Linked DNA regions of Homo sapiens: region 2 is linked to region 1. Evidence: promoter capture Hi-C in human tissues and cell types (Jung and others, 2019). All regions are on one chromosome and are shown on one strand. Each heading gives the region's core, a stretch centred on a gene start or on the middle of the fragment in contact. The rest is flanking DNA. Distances are from core to core; before and after follow the strand shown. Region 1 holds the start of SS18 (SS18 subunit of BAF chromatin remodeling complex). Region 2 overlaps OSBPL1A (oxysterol binding protein like 1A).

Region 1 (2,935 bases), core at 185-2,684:
CCATGATAAATATCTTCAGACTTATGTAACAGAAACTATAAAAAAAAAAGAAAAACTCTGGACTTTTCCTGTGTACAAAAATAAAAAAGGTGAGCCCTCCAGAAACGCAGTTTTGCGTGAGTGCGTACTTGGAGCTGTTTGCCAGGCTGCAGACTTAACTCAGAGCACTATATGAAAGCACTGCATTTCCAGGCACTGCCAAGCCCGTTTGTTCATAAAATAAAGCAACAGTTGGGCAAATGTCAAAAGCCACACTACGAAGAACCTGACAGTAAACAGAAACCGATTAGCATAATCTACGTGGTCTGAGTGGTACTAAAACTTGACCTTTTTTTCTATTTTGATCTTTGCTACACAGCATAAAACAAAACAAAAATATTTAAAGTAAACTGCTAAATACAGCAGCAACTTCTGAAAGTCTAGGTCAGTAAAATTTAGAATGCTGCCTTGCTTGCAGGCAACAAGGGGTAGAGGACAATAAAGAACCTTTGTGTTCCGACTGGCAGTAACACAGCAGCGACTGCAGCAGCTCTATCCTTTAAAAAGGAGGCAGCTCCCTGTGTATTTATCACGACTTACATTAACTGGTCACGACAGTCTCCACCATTAGACTGTAAGCTCCAGGAAGGCAAGGACCATGACTCACCACAGTAGCCTCAGCGCCTAAAATAGGCGCTCAATAAATATTTGCTGCAGAATAAATGAATAGGCGGCGATGCAGAAGGGAAGAAGAGGCTCTGGGGACAACCCCAGAGTCCATGGGGACCTTCCTTGCCCGCTCCTCAAACTCTATACTAAGGTTCCCTCCAGCGTTCCCCAAGTCCTCCTGCGAGCTCCCAAACTCGGCTGAGTTTGCAGGGCGGCGACCAGCGCACCGACTTCCCCTCTGCCTGCCGCGACCCGCGGTGGGGTCCGCACGAAGCAGCCGCGGCACGCGGGGCGGGGCGACGCCAAAGTAACTCCGGAGCAACGCGCGGGGCCGCCGGTCCGACACACGCCCTTCCCTGAGCGGCCGCCGCCGGGCGCACGCGCCCCGCAGCCCGAACGCCGCCCCATCCCTAGAGAAATCAGGCGGCGGCTGTTTGGGCTTTTGTGTCTGTAGAAAAACGCGTAAATGCGTGAAAGACTCCGAGAAAAACCGGTTCACCCTCTTCCGCCACCCACTCAGGCACAGCCAGCAGTCCGTGTTCCCAAACACTGCTGATTCCCAGCAGGCCCGCCTCCGCCTCGGCCCGGTCGACTCCGGGCCCGGCCCTTCCCCCCGCGTCTGTCTCTCCCAGAGGCGGTAAGGGCCTGGCATCCGCAACCCCGCGCGGTTTCACCTTCTGAATCGCAGCGGGAGTGATCTCCCCCTTGCCTCGCTGCCTCGGGGCCGCGAAAGCCACAGACATGTTGCCGCCGTCACCACTATCGGCAAGTCCCGAGCGCTCCGGGTGAACGGCAAACTGGGGGAGAGACGCCGGCCTCTCGGGCTGAACCACCTCGGGAATGCGGGGAGGGGGGATGCTCCGGGGCCAAGCGGACGGGCGGCGGGGCAGGCCTGAAGGAGGCACTCTGGCCAGGGATGTCTCGCTTCTGCGCACTCTGGGGGACCCCTAGCCCTGGCCGAACTTTCTTGACCGTCCCTGCATCCCCCGAGCTCTCCTTATGGGCACCCCCTGGCCCTTTGCGCTAATGGTAGAGTCGCGCCCTAGTCCTCCCTCCGCTTCAGCGATTCAGGAAATGGTCCCGCCGCCGCGGGAGAAGGAGAGGCTGGGGCAGCCCCTGTCACAGGAAATGCGAGCGGCCCAAGCCGGCCCGCCCCCTTCGCGCCGTGGCAACTTGCCTCCCTCTCCGGCCCTCTGAAGCGTCTCCCCGACTGTGTTGCAGAGCGTGCCCTAGACCTAGTTCAGTTTTTCCAACTTCATCCTTACTTACGCCTCCTGGCAAGAGTGGCCGCCCCGAGTTGTCCCGGCAGCCCGGAGAGGGGAGGGAGGTCAAGACTCGGGAGTTCGTGCAAATCCGTGGAGCATCTGCCGAGATAGGGCAGAGGTGGAAGGACAAGGTGAACGCGGATTCGCTGGTTTAAATGGCTCGGCTACGCCCCAAATGCGCACCTCCGAGTCCACAGTCTCGCACGCACGCACAAAGTCGTGCCTAACAATTGGAAAGTAACCCTGACCCGAAACCGGGACACCAAGGTTGTGTCCAGTGCTCAGGGGCAATCGGCCAGCTTGGCTGGAGCGGACAGAGAAGAGCTCGCCTCTTGGGACAAACCCTTAGCAGGAAAGTGGGTCGATTTCGTCTGACTTGGCTTTTTGGAATTAAGTTGTGAAACAGGGCATCCTCACTCTCTGTTTTTTAAGAGAGTACTTACTTAGTGCCTTGTAAATTAGGCCCAAGCTGCCAGGCTTCAAGTCAGTGTAAGGGAAAAAGGCAAAGTTTTCAAATTATGGAAGGAACACGGACAAATGTGGGTTTTGTGTTGCCGTGGGGTTTTAAAGTATTCTGTAAATTTAGACTTCCATATAACACAAAGGGAAAGTTTATATAAAGTGTTACCCAACGTTAATGAATAATAAAAAATATTTCCATTTTTATATAAATTGGAAAAATAAAGAAAAAATACATTATTTTAAAAATTTAATCACTTGAGGCCAGGAGTTTGAGACCAGCCTGGGCAACAAAGTGAGACCTCTGTCTCTACAAGAATTTTAAAAATTGGCTGGGTATGGTGGTGTGCACCTGTAGTTCCAGCTACTAAGGAGGCTGAGGTGGAAGAATCACTTGAGCCAAGGGGGTGGAGACTGCAGTAAGCCATGACTGCCCCACCACACTCCACCCTGGGTGACACAGCAAGACCCTGTCTCAAAAAAAAAAAAAGAAAAATTAAGTATCAAATAAATGCTCTTCACAAAAATGTCAAGAATGTCATTGATTAAATGCATTGTTTGTT
Region 2 (2,935 bases), core at 223-2,722, 1.8 Mb before region 1:
ATAGAACAACAAAATCCAAACCCAGAGACAGAATAAAACTGCAGAATACCAAAAACAAAGTGAAAAATCTTTGCAGTAACAAAAGGGGACTTGGGGGACAGGGAAAAAAAAAAACGAGAGATTGCCTGTAATTCCAGCACTTTGGGAGACTGAGGCAGGTGGATCACCTGAGGTCAGGAGTTCGAGACCAGCCTGGCCAATGTGGTGAAACCCTGTCTCTACTAAAAAATAAAAAATTAAAATAAATTAAAATAAAATTTAAAAAATTAGCCAGGCATGGTGGCAGGTGCACCTGTAATCCCAGCTACTCAGGAGGCTGAGGCAGGAGAATCACTTGAACCTGGGAGGCAGAGGTTGCAGTGAGCCAAGATTGCGCCACTGTACTCCAGCCTGAGCAACAGCAAAACTCTGTCTCAAAAAGAAAAAAGAAAATATCAGAAGTCAGAATAAATTGCAATTGCATCTTCAAAATGCTAGTGGAAGATAACTATAACCCAGTGAGGGTGAAATAAAGATTTAGATAAGGTAGAAATTCTTCTACTCACAGACCCCCAATGAAAGAATTACTCAAAGATTTGCCTCAGAAAATAAAACAGAATTCAGGGGAGAGGAGTAGGATATAAAAATCAGTGGCATTAACTGTGGAAACCCTCTTGGCAAAAGAATGCAAAATATGCCACAGTTCTGATGGTTTCTTCCCTATTTCATGTCTCTAAAAGGTCTCTTTGACTTGTACACTCGTTAAATTTACTAACTTGACAGAAATTTATTGTTTCTCCCTGAGTTTGAGAGATATAAGGTATAAATTTAAGCTAGATAAGTAGGTCATTCATTTCACTCACTCATTCATCACACACAGAGAGAAAGAGAGACGGCGAGAGAGAGGAGAGAGAGACCCCCATCACATGCCAAGTTCTGTTGAGGTACCAAAGATAATCGGCAAACAGGTAAAAATCCCTGCCCTGAAGTTTATACCACGGTGGGAAAGGCAGACAATCAACTACACACACTCATAGGAAGTCTGATAAGTAACAAAAGAGAAACTGCAGTAAGGTAGAGGGGTAACAAGTGCTGAGGGGAGGTGAACTTCACAGAGGATGAGGTACCAGCTAAGGGTCTCAGCAGGGAAGAGCTGGCCTGCTCAAAGGTAACTGAGGTCTGGGCACAGTGGCTCACGCCTGTAATCCCAGCACTTTGGGAGGCTGAAGTGGGTGGATCACTTGAGGTCAGGAGTTCAAGGCCAGCCTGCCCAAAAGGGAGAAACTCCGTCTCTACTAAAAATATAAAAATTAGCCGGGTGTGGTGGCTCGCGCCTGTGGTCCCAGCTACTCAGGAGGCTGAGGCAGGAGTATCGCTTGAACCTGGGGGCGGAGGTTGCAGTGAGCCAAGATCGCACCACTGCCTCTAGCCCAGGCGACAGAGAGGGACTCCCGTCTCAAAAAAAAAAAAAAAAAAAAAAAAGAAAAGAAAAGAAAAAATTAAAACGTTAACTGAGAAGAATTTGAAAAAGAGATTGCTCACAAAGGTGAGGAGGGTTGAAGTAACAGAGACTGGCGTGCGGGACACAGTTACCATCCTGGCACAGAGGGGGAAAGGGGAGAGGACAGTATTGCTAAGCCCAGCAAGAGCTGGAGTCTAGATCAGGCCAGTGGCCAGGCAGAGGAACCCGGCAGCACTGCGGAACCACAGTCCGGCTGGAGAGAATGAAGGTAAAGCCCTGAAACGACTTCCTCTCCCGTCCCTCCGCAGGTCTCCCGACAGAGCCTCCCATTTGCTGAATCCAATCACAAGTCCGAGGGCCAAGAAGCCCCAGGGCTGAGGCTGCAGTACACAAAGCAGGGCAGAGCAGACGAGGAGGAGCAAACCAGCGCAGGAGGCCAGGAAAATCCTCTGTGTGCAGGCACCTTTTGAAGAAAGACCTAGGGAAGGAAGGGAGTGACTACGCCACTCAGGAGAAAAGCCTTCCAGAAGAGGGAACAGCACACGAAAGGCCACTGGCAGGCGTAGGCCAGGCCAATGAGGCTGGAGAGGAGCCAGAAAGGGAACTGGGAGGTGGGGGGCTGAGGGGTGGAAGGGGCTGGAAGGCTCTGCAGGTCATTAGAATGACTCTGTCTCTCACTCCAAGTGAGAAGATCTGGAAGCCACTGGATGTTTCCAGCAAAGGACCTCAATCCACTGACATTTTGGGAGGATTTGGGGCAGAAGCTGTAGGGGGAAGGGTGAAATCTGGGGACAGCAAGTAGGTTTTCAGATGTCCACGTGGGAGGCAATGGTGGCTTGGACCAGGTGGCAACAGAGAAAGTGGTAAGTTTGTTTACTCAAAGCCCAGATTTTGAGGAAACAGTTTTAAGTAGGCTAAATAGAAGTGCTTTTCCTCTCAGATTTTTTTTTTCAGTTTTATTTTCTTGAGTTCGACTATTTTGCTTTTATATTTCAATAGTTTTGGGGGAATAGGTGGTGTTTGGTTACATGCATAAGTTCCTTAGTGAAGAAGTCTAAGATTTTAGTGCACCCATCACCTGAGCAGTGTACACTACATCCAATATGTGGTTGTTTTTTTTTTTGGTGGTGGTGTTGTTATTGAGATGGAGTCTTGCTCTGTTGCCCAGGCTGGAGTGCAGTGGCGCGATCTCGGCTCACTGCAACCTCCTCCTCCTGGGTTCAAGCGATTCTTCTGTCTCAGCCTCCTGAGTAGCGGGGATTACAGGTACCCGCCACCAGGCCCAGCTAATTTTTGTATTTTTTTAGTAGAGACGAGGTTTCACCATGTTGGCCAGGCTGGTCTCGAACTCCTGACCTCAGGTGATCCGCCCGACTCAGCCTCCCAAAGTGCTGGGATTACAGGCGTGAGCCACTGTGCCCGGTCCAATATGTAGATTTTAATTTCTCCCCCAGACTCTTTCCTTCCCAGTCCATAAAGACCATATCACTCTAA

What was found. Contacts are between HindIII fragments. The study calls those that stand out against the background at their distance.
Region 2: a contact is called between a fragment that was not itself captured here and the fragment with the promoter of SS18 in region 1, in 1 of the 25 tissues and cell types used here (dorsolateral prefrontal cortex).

The regions. Positions count from the first base shown.
Region 1 is chr18:26,089,179-26,092,113 of GRCh38, forward strand. SS18 (SS18 subunit of BAF chromatin remodeling complex) reads right to left here and starts at 1,435. Exons shown (of 11, transcript NM_001007559.3): 1 at 1,323-1,435. The coding sequence starts at 1,391. RefSeq lists an enhancer at 1,770-1,889. The HindIII fragment of the contact is 6,350 bases long and covers 1-2,935 here.
Region 2 is chr18:24,291,668-24,294,602 of GRCh38, forward strand. The region is part of intron 14 of OSBPL1A (oxysterol binding protein like 1A); the gene reads right to left. Among named protein-coding and RNA genes, the nearest start is that of MIR320C2, 29 kb to the right of the region's middle. The HindIII fragment of the contact is 3,744 bases long and covers 1-2,935 here.